3 separate regions of the Homo sapiens genome follow, and regions 2 and 3 are each linked to region 1. Evidence: promoter capture Hi-C in 16 types of primary human blood cells and fetal thymus (Javierre and others, 2016). All regions are on one chromosome and are shown on one strand. The core of a region is centred on a gene start or on the middle of the fragment in contact, and the rest is flanking DNA. Distances in the headings are between cores, read along the strand shown. Region 1 holds the start of KCTD7 (potassium channel tetramerization domain containing 7). Region 2 overlaps ASL (argininosuccinate lyase). Region 3 overlaps LINC03006 (long intergenic non-protein coding RNA 3006).

Evidence for each region. The method cuts DNA at HindIII sites, captures the fragments that hold promoters and counts their contacts. A CHiCAGO score of 5 or more calls a contact.
Region 2: a contact is called between a fragment that was not itself captured here and the fragment with the promoter of KCTD7 in region 1, in 1 of 17 cell types (endothelial precursors). The highest score is 5.8, in endothelial precursors.
Region 3: a contact is called between a fragment that was not itself captured here and the fragment with the promoter of KCTD7 in region 1, in 2 of 17 cell types (neutrophils and non-activated CD4 T cells). The highest score is 7.4, in neutrophils.

Annotation. Positions count from the first base shown.
Region 1 is chr7:66,627,536-66,630,950 of GRCh38, forward strand. It overlaps KCTD7 (potassium channel tetramerization domain containing 7), which reads left to right and starts at 1,346. Exons shown (of 4, transcript NM_153033.5): 1 at 1,346-1,673. The coding sequence starts at 1,530. RefSeq lists silencers at 1-126, 1,137-1,706. The HindIII fragment of the contact is 8,113 bases long and covers 1-3,415 here.
Region 2 is chr7:66,079,425-66,082,729 of GRCh38, forward strand. ASL (argininosuccinate lyase) reads left to right here. Exons shown (of 17, transcript NM_000048.4): 3 at 2,379-2,573; 4 at 2,944-3,027. Among named protein-coding and RNA genes, the nearest start is that of ASL, 5.3 kb to the left of the region's middle. The HindIII fragment of the contact is 886 bases long and covers 1,500-2,385 here.
Region 3 is chr7:65,751,544-65,754,746 of GRCh38, forward strand. The region is part of intron 2 of LINC03006 (long intergenic non-protein coding RNA 3006); the gene reads right to left. It also overlaps the pseudogene CCT6P1. Among named protein-coding and RNA genes, the nearest start is that of SNORA22, 2.4 kb to the right of the region's middle. The HindIII fragment of the contact is 2,092 bases long and covers 647-2,738 here.

The DNA of each region.
Region 1 (3,415 bases), core at 96-2,595:
AAACGGTTTGAAAAGGAGAAGCATGGTTGCACACGCCTGCGATCCCAGCACTTTGGGAGGCTGACGAGGGAGGACAGCTTGAGGCAAGGAGTTTGAGACCAGCCTGGGCAACATGACAAGACCCCATTTCTTAAAAAAAAAAAAAAAAAAAAATTTTTTTTTCTTTTTTGAGACGGAGTTTCGCTCTTGTTGCCCAGGTTGGAGTATAGTGGCCGTGATCTCGCCTCACTGCAATCTCCATCTCCTGGGTTCAAGCGATTCTCCTGCCTCAGCCTCCCTAGTAGCTGGGATTGCAGGTGTGCCACCATGCCTGGCTAATTTTGTATTTTTAGTAGAGATGAGGTTTCACCATGTTGGCCAGGCTGGTCTCAACTTCCTGACCTCAGGTGATCCACCCGCATCGCTTACCAAAGAGCCAGGATTACAGGCGTGAGCCACTGCGCCCGGCCAAAATTTTAAAAAATCAGCTGAGTGTGGTGGTGCGCGTCTGTGGTCCCAGCTACTCGGGAGGCTGGGGCGGGAGGATTGCTTGAGCCCAGGGGTTGCAATGAGCTATGATTGCGCCACTGCACTTCAGCCTGGGTAACAGAGTGAGACTTTGTCTTTTAAAGAAAGGAGAAAATGGCTTGAACGGGCTAAGAACCTTGACCCCCAGGAGACTCCCTGCGCTGATAGAGCCTCTAGGGCTGGACTCCGCCTCCCAGGGAGCCGGGAGCATCTTGGGGAAGGGCCTGTCTCCATCTGTGTGTCCCGGTGGAAAAACGGTCACGGTGGGGAGTCACTGTCATTATTCATTGAACTCAAGCGCTCCTATTTTGGGTTTTCTCGTTCGGATTTCTGCGCGAGCGAGTGAGGAAGAACTGGACACCCGGGCGGTGCCCTGCGGCTCGGGGCGGGGCCAGCCGCGGTGGCGTGTCCGCAGCCACCTCAGCCCTCCTCCCGCCACATCCTCCAGGAAAGGCTGCTCAGGCCTTCCATTGAGGAGACAAGGACCCGCTGCTCTGGGGCCAGACACACGAGTAAGTCGTGACCCCCTGTGTGAAGGGATAAGGCGTCTACCCTGACGCGGGTGAGAACCCTCTTCACGGCAGACTCCGACGCCCAGTTATGAGAGCGTAGCGGCGCACCACCGCCGGGTCTCTCGGAGAGGGCGCGCCCGCTGGCCAGAGGACCAATCAGTGCACGGCAGGCTCGCAGGCCGCCCCCCCCCCCCCCCCCCAACCCAGGGACCACTCAGGCGCCGGCCGCTGGCGCTGCCTGCTCTTCGACTGGGCGAGCTTCCTGCCAATCAGGGCGGAACCAGCGCGGCGTCGGCCAGTAGCGGGAGGCGGTCGGGTCAGGCCCCAGCTGGGCGCGAGCGGGTCGGCGTTGAGGGAGCCACCGCCCTCCCGCCTGCGCACTGCCTCTCGCCCCCCTCCGGCCAGCCCGCAGCCGGCCGCGTCATGCCAGGCGCTGCTCGGCGGTAGGGAGTGCCCGGGGCCGCCGCCTCCGCCCGCCCGAAGCCGCGCCCACTGCCCAGAGCCAGAGGGATGGTGGTAGTCACGGGGCGGGAGCCAGACAGCCGTCGTCAGGACGGTGCCATGTCCAGCTCTGACGCCGAAGACGACTTTCTGGAGCCGGCCACGCCGACGGCCACGCAGGCGGGGCACGCGCTGCCCCTGCTGCCACAGGAGGTACCCGGGCGGGCGGCGGGCCGCGGGGCGTGGGGAGGGGCGCGGGGGAGAAGCGGGCGCGGGGCATAGCGGTCCTCGGCGGGTGGGCGGGGCCGGGGTTGGGGGCGGGGCCCGCGGACTTGCGCCCCTCCCCCGCCCACCTGCAACTCCCCCGCCCACCTGCACCCCTACCCACCCACCTTCAACCCCTGTCAATTACACCCACTAGGTGTGCTTCCCCACCCCCTACACCCTCCGCCCAGTAGTCACTGGGGTGATTTACTCCCATCGCCATGTCCCACTTTTACCGAAGACAGGAGGGAGGGTGGGCCGTGGGAGGGGGACCCTGGAGCCCCGAGAGCTGATGGTGTGTCTGACCAGGCACCGTAGCTCGAGCCTGTAATCCCAACACATTGGGAGGGAGGATCGCTTGAGGGCAGGAGTTGGAGGCCAGCCTGGGCAACATAGCGAGGCCCCGTCCCTACTACGACTGGAAAAACAAAGGCATTTTGGGTTGGATGAATAAAAAAAAGAAAAGAAAAAGATGTCTTCTAGAGAATCCAACAGGATGCTGTAGTGGTTGCCCACACCTAGTCTCCAGCTACCTAAGGAACAAGGCAAGGAGCTGTCTGCACATAAGGGGCAGGCCAGTTCATAGATGTAGGCACGGTCACCTGGCATCCCATGGCTTTCACTCACAGGCTGCTGTGCTCTGGTGCACAGGGGCTTCCACGGGTCTTACTTAATGTGTGTGATACTATCATGTCAACACCTGAAATGACACTCAAGAGACGGGAGAAGATACCAGGCATGGTGGCTCACATCTGTAATCTCAGCAGTTTGGGATGCTGAGGTGGGAGGATTGCTTGATCCCAGCAGTTAGAGACTAGTCAGGGCAACAGTGAGACCCTGCCTCTACAAAAATGAAAATTAGCCAGGCTTGGTGGTGTGTGCCTGTAGTCCCAGGTGCTCAGGAAGGTGAGTTGGGAGGATTGCTTGAGCCCTGGAGGTTGAGGCTGCAGTGAGCTGTAATTGTGCCACTGTACTCCAGCCTGGGTGTGATAGAGTAAGACCGTACCTACAAACAAACAAAAACAAAAAAAGCAAGAGAAGGGAAACGATGCCAGGTGTGGTGGCTTACACTTGTAATCCCAGCACTTTGGGAGGTCAAGGCAGGAGGATGGTTTGAGGCCAGGAGTCTGGGACCAGCTTGGGCAACACAGACTCCATCTCTACAAATAAAAAATAAAGAGGAGGGAAGGTGAAGCATTACTGGACACCGAAGATGGCTTCTAGGAGGCAGGGACTAAGGTAGTGCCAGATCCAGGAGCATGTGGTATGCGGAGTCCCAGGACAATGGAGGCCCTCAACAATTGAGGCCCTCAACAGGCTGGGCTAGGTGATGCTCTTGGGAAGCAGATAGTGTTGTGCTGGGATTGCAAGCCCCATACACACAATGCCATGGGAAAATGAGCAAAAATCTAGAAGTAATCTCTGCAATTGGAAAAAAGTCATTAGTCACAGTGGTGCTATTTTTTTGTGCACTGTCATTGGGAAAATGATATGGTTTGAGGGAAAGAGCACAAGACCACAGATTGCAGACCAGGGCCCCACCACCAGTTCCCCCCACTGATGACATTGCCCCATGTGAGCTCCAAAACTGTTTCCGATGGCTTTTGTCCTCTCTGCTTCAATCCTCTCATCTCTAATATGGAGCAAGCACTTGGATTGGTATGAAGTATCTTTAGAAAAGGTTTAAAGAG
Region 2 (3,305 bases), core at 693-3,192, 550 kb before region 1:
CCACTCTGTCCCATGCCCTGGCCTCTGCCCTCTTTCAAAACATAGATGTGGCTGGCGCCTAGGCTCATGCCTATAATCTCAGCACTTTGGGAAGCTGAGGCTGGAGGACAGCTTGAGCCCAGGAATTCAAGACCAGCCTGGGCAACATAGTGAGACCCTGTCTCTACCAATTATTTTATTTTATTTTATTTTGTTCATTTATTTATTTATTTTGAGACAGAGTTTTGCTCTGTCACCTAGGCTGGAGTGCAGTGGCGTGATCTTGGCTCACTGCAACCTCCGCCTCCCGGGTTCAAGCGATTCTCCTGCCTCAGCCTCCTAAGTAGCTGGAACTACAGGCGAGTGCCACCACGCCTGGCTAATTTTTGTATTTTTAGTAGAGACCAGGTTTCACCATGTTGACCAGGATGGTCTCTGTCTCCTGACCTCATGATCCACCCACCTTAGCCTTCCAAAATGCTGGGATTACAGGCATGAGCCACCACTCCCAGTCCTATAAAATTTTAAAAAAATGTCTGGGTGTGGTGGCGCATGCTTGTAGTCCCAACTATTGGGGAGGCTGAGGCAAGAGGATTGGTTGAGACCAGGAGTTTGAGGCTGCAGTGAGCTATGATGGTGCCACCGCACTCCAACCTGGGTAACAAAGTGAGACCCTGTGTCTAAAAAAGAATTTAAAGGCCGGGTGTGGTGGCTCACACCCGTAATCCCAGGACTTTGGGAGGCCGAGGTGGGCAGATCACGAGGTCAGATTAAGACCATCCTGGCTAACAAGGTGAAACCACGTCTCTACTGAAAAAAAAAAATACAAAAAATTAGCCAGGCATGGTGGTGGGCACCTGTAGTCCCAGCTACTCAGGAGGCTGAGGCAGGAGAATGGCGTGAATCTGGGAGGTGGAGCTTGCAGTGAGCCAAGATCCTGCCACTGCACTCCAGCCTGGGTGACAAAGAGAGACTCCATCTCAAAAAAAAAAAAAAAAAAAAAGAATTAAAAAAGATTTTTTTAATGAACAAAACAGGCTCGGCACAGTGGCTCATGCCTGTAATCCCAAGCACTTCGGGATGCCAAGGTCAGGGGATCACCTGAGATCAGGAGTTCGAGACCAGCCTGACCAACATGGTGAAACCCCGTCTCTACTAAAAATATAAAACTCAGCCAGGTGTGGTGGCACACGCCTGAAATTCCAGCTACTCGGGAGGCTGAGGCAGGAAAATTGGCTTGAAGCCGGGAGGTGGAGGTTGCAGTGAGCCGAGATCACGCCACTGCACTCCAGCCTAGGCAACAGAGTGAGACTCTATCTCAAAGAAAACGAACAAAACATAGATGCCTACATACCATTCCTCTGCCCTTGGCTCCTGGGGAGTAAGGGATCACCCAGTGACCTCCTAGAAGGCCAGTGACAATGGGGGGTGTCAGGGTGCTTTTCAGAGCCAAGGGAGTGGTAGGAATTGGGATCTTAGTCCAGCTCCAAGCTGTGAGGGAGAGAGTTGCAGGGCACTTAAGCTTGGTGGAGACCCTCAAGGCCTCTTTGCCTGTCCCTGCAGCAAAGGTTCTGGACACCAGAGCCAAGTCCAGAAGCCCTGGTGGAACAGGGGTGAAAAGCATAGGTTCTGACTTCAGACTGCTGGGCCGCAGCCCTGGCTATCCCACCCCAGGTGAGAGCAGGCTGCTCTGTGCCTCAGTTTCCCCATCTTCATAGTGGAATTGTATTGGTGCCTACCCAGAGGGTTGTGTCAACAATTAGGATGGCACCTAGCACCTTGGTCAGTGGTGGGAAAGGTTCCAGAAGTTCTGCTGTGGTCCCAGGGGTGTCTCAGGCCCTGCCATCATCTCCTTGGAGGGGTGCCATGTGGTGGGAAAGAACCCCAACTTCAAGGCCACACACAGTGGCTCATGCCTGTAATCCTAGCACTTTCAGAGGCCAAGATGGGAGGATCACCTGAGGTCAGGAGTTCAAGACCAGCCTGGCCAACATGGTGAAACCCCATCTCTACTAATGATACAAAAATTAGCTGGGTGTGGTGGCACGTGCCTGTAATCCCAGCTACTTGGGAGTCTGAGGCAGGAGAATCTCTTGAACCTGGGAGGCAGAGTTTGCAGTGAGCTGAGATGGCACCACTGTACTCCAGCCTGGCCGACAAAGTGAGACTCTGTCTCAAAAAAAAAAAAAAAGAACCCAAACTTTTGGTGTTCAGCCATGTTCCCATGCTCACTCCCAGGGTGGTGACTCTGGGAAGGTCTCAGCCTCCTTGTCTGCCCAGTTAGAATGATCTGATGCCCCTGCTACCATCAGACTTGATAAGTTTCCCAAAGACTCTTTGCAAGAAGCACTGTTCTGGAGGGTGGAGGAGAGACTAATTGTTCTTGCTCTCCTGGCCAGAGTGGGAAGCTTTGGGGTGGCCGGTTTGTGGGTGCAGTGGACCCCATCATGGAGAAGTTCAACGCGTCCATTGCCTACGACCGGCACCTTTGGGAGGTGGATGTTCAAGGCAGCAAAGCCTACAGCAGGGGCCTGGAGAAGGCAGGGCTCCTCACCAAGGCCGAGATGGACCAGATACTCCATGGCCTAGACAAGGTACTTGCCGTGGCCCAAGCCCCACCCAAGGCCCCTTCCCTGTGGCCCCAGGCTCCCACCAAATCCCTGAGCAAACAGTGCAGTGTTGCCCATCTGTGGTTTCACATTGAACTAATTATATACTCAAGTGCTGTTTAACTGTGTGCCTTGATGACTGCCTCTCTCCATCCTTTAATGACCCCTGTGGCCCACATGGCTCATGGGTAAAGGTGTGCTGGGCCTGAGATGCCCCCTCCCAGGGTGCGCTTCCAGGACTCAGCTCCTGGGCAGGGACAGTCAGTCACCAGGGATAGGGTGGGACCAAGGCAGGGGCTCTCTTGGCTGCTGATGCCTGCTCACCTGACCCCGGCATTGCTGCTACCCACTACAGGTGGCTGAGGAGTGGGCCCAGGGCACCTTCAAACTGAACTCCAATGATGAGGACATCCACACAGCCAATGAGCGCCGCCTGAAGGTACGACCCCTGGAGCCCCACCGCTTTCCTTGCCTCCCCTCTCCACCTTGCCCAGGGCCACTTTGAGCATTAGCACCATTCTGTTTACTTCGCCATTGGCAGACAGCATGTGAGACCTCAGGACATGAGCCAGGCACCCTGGCTCATGCCTATAATCCTAGCACTTTGGGAGGCTGAGGTGGGAGGATTGCTTGAGACCAGGAGTTCGAGACCAGCCTGGGCAACATAATGAGGTCCCACAGCTACAAAAATTAAAAAAAGAAAAGAAAAAAAGAACA
Region 3 (3,203 bases), core at 443-2,942, 880 kb before region 1:
ACAATCTCTGCGGGGACGGGGTGGGCACTACACTTGTCCTCCAGCCTGCGGGAGATAACTAGCTCCATATTCTCGGCTCCCTAAGATCGGGGAAAAGCCCGTTTTCTAATGGGACTTTTTAATTTAGTTTTCGTTGATAACTAGCTCCATATCCCTGGCTCCCTGAGATCTGGGAAAAGTCCTTTTTTGTTGTTTGTTTTGGTTTTTTGTTGTTTTTTTTTTTGAGACAGAGTCTCGCTCTGTCACCCAGGCTAGAGTGCAGTGGCGCGATCTCGGCTCACTGCAAGCTCCGCCTCCCGGGTTCATGTCTTTCTCCTGCCTCAGTCTCACGAGTAGCTGGGACTACAGGCGCCCGTCACCACGCCCAGCTTGCTTTATTTATTTATTTATTTATTTATTTTGTATTTTTAGTAGAGATGGGGTTTCACCGTGTTAGCCAGGATGGTCTCGATATCCTGACCTCGAGATCCACCCGCCTCGGCCTCCCAAAGTGCTGGGATTACAGGCGTGAGCCACCGCACCCGGCTGGAAAAGCCCATTTTCTAATGGGACTTTTTAATTTAGTTTTCGTTTTAATTTCGTTTTTGTCACAATTTGATTGATTTCTGTCCCTTAAACAGTCTTGTTTCTGGCGCTGGAGACATCAAGCTTACTAAAGACACAGGAGTTGACGATCAGCCCTGGCCAACATGGTGAAACTCAGTCTCTACTAAAAATACAAAAATTAGCCGGGCACGGTCCTGCACAGTGCGCTGCTTCACGAAATGGTGAGAGGTGCTCTGCTAGGTCAGAAATGTCTTGATTTTCCGTAGAACTTTTGCTTTGTAGAAAGATTTGCAATGTCCATTCTCAAGGTAGGAGAACATTCAGAAGTGACATGTAACAGTGACAGTAATAGTACTGACTGTGCCTGGAGTCTGACAGCCCTGTCTTTGAATCCCTGCTTTTTTGCCATTCACAGTCTGGGCTAAAGGACTGTAATTGTACATTAATTATAATAAAATTTGAAAAATTAAGGGTGGTTGACACAATCACATGGGCAAAATGCATGAGGATGGTTTTTCTCTTTATGGGTTTTTTTTTTTTTTTTTTTTAAGACAGAATCTCACTCTGTCGCCCAGCCTGGAGTCCAGTGGTTCACTGCAACCTCCGCCTCCTGGGTTCAAGTGATTCTCCTGTCTCAGCCTCCCAAGTAGCTGGGATTACAGGCTTGCTCCACCATGCCCAGCTAATTTTTGTATTTTTTGTAGAGATGGTATTTCACCATGTTGGCCAGGCCGGTCTTGAACTCATGACTTCAGGTGATCCGCCTGAGTCAGCCTCCCAAAGTGCTGGGATTACCAGGCGTGAGCCACAGCATCTGGCCGGTTTTTCTCTTTTTAAAACAGCAATTTCTCTGTTATGTCTCATCTCCATCTCCAACTGGAGGGGAGAGAAATCTCTTTGCTTTAACATTTTTAAAGTCTTAGGGATGGAGAATATGAGATTATTGAAGGGAGTATGCGTTTTACTCATCCCTAAATTCCCAAAACTTAACAGTTCAAATCCAAGAAAGGGAAATGATTTCCTGCTGATTTGAGTTCAGAATAATCAGGGTTTTGCTAGTAGTATACCATGCTATCAACATCCAGATGAAATATCTTTAATAAAGACTTGCTAATCTAGGAGGTGTTTTTGTTTTTACTGGGTTCAGTGGTGGCTCGTGTTAGCAGAAAAGTGGAGCCACGGTTAAACTTGACGTCAGAATTGTTTTGGGGCCGGGTGCAGTGGCTCATTCTTGTAATCTCAGCACTTTGGAAGGCCGAGGTAGGTGGATCACTTGAGGCCAGGAGTTCACGATCAGCCCTGGCCAACATGGTGAAACTCCGTCTCTACTGAAAATACAAAAATTAGCCAGGCATGGTTCTGTACGCCTGTAGTCCCAGCTACTCCAGAGGCTGAGGCAGGAGAATCGATTGCTTGAACCTGGGAGGCTGAGGTTTCAGTGAGCCAAGATTGTGCCACTGCACTCTCCAGCCTAGGTGACAGAGTGAGACTGTCACCAAAAAAAAAAAAAAATTTATTTGGGTTTTAGTGTGTGAGAAATACAGCATAAGTAGAGAGAAGCACGTAGAACATTTACAATTTAGGAAATAATTATAAAGTGGACACACACAACCACTATTGTAGTTAAGAAATAAATTGTTGCTACCACCTCAGAAGTCCCCTCCCACTGGAACTTCTCTCCAATCTCCAGAAGTCTGTTTTTCAGTTTTCTTTGAAAAAATTACAAACCTACGAAAATAATGATTATATTGTGTGTGCCCTTTACCTAGATTCACCAATTGTTTACATGTTGCTCCATTTCTTTTCTATTTTTCCTCTGAATCATTTGAAGGTAAGCTGCAGACATGTCATTTTACCTTTAAAATACAATTTTTTTCCGCTTTTTTTTTTTTTTAAGAGATAGGATTTTGCCATGTAGCCCAGGCTGGTTTCGAATTCCTGAGTTCAAGGGATCCATCTGCTGTGGCCTCCCAAAGTGCTGGGATTACAGGCATGAGCTAACGCACCTGACCTTTCCTTTTAAATTACTTGGCCATTGCAGAGTAACAGTGGAGGCTGCTGAGCTTTCATTTTAGGAGATACCTGGCTTATTCTCGTAGAGCCCTACACTTGCCTAAAGAGGCAAGGATGTAAAATTATCCGTTACTGTTAACTGTTAGCTGTCATCTTGCGTAAACTTTCACTGAGCCTCAAGCTTCCTCATCTGTAAAGTAGAGATAACCTGGGAAATAAATTACACATGAAAATGTTTCCATCATTATAATTGCATGCGCATGATAGCAAATTGTGACTTTTTAATCTTAGTAATTTGTAGCCAAACACTTGGGTAGCTTTTTCAAGTAGATAGTACTTAAAGAGGCCCTTCATGCATTTTATTTGTGGTATTTTTAGACTGTTTCATATTGTTTTAAGTGATTCGTTCTTTTTCTACTTTCAGCAAATTCAACACCCAACAGCTTCCTTAATAGCAAAGGTAGCAACAGCCCAGGATGATATAACTGGTGATGGTACGACTTCCAATGTCCTAATCATTGGAGAGCTGCTGAAACAGGCAGATCTCTACATTTCTGAAGTATGCACAACTTTTTTTTGTTTTGTTTTTTTGAGATGGGATTTCACTCTTGTTGCCCAGGCTGGGGTGCAATGGCATCTCGGCT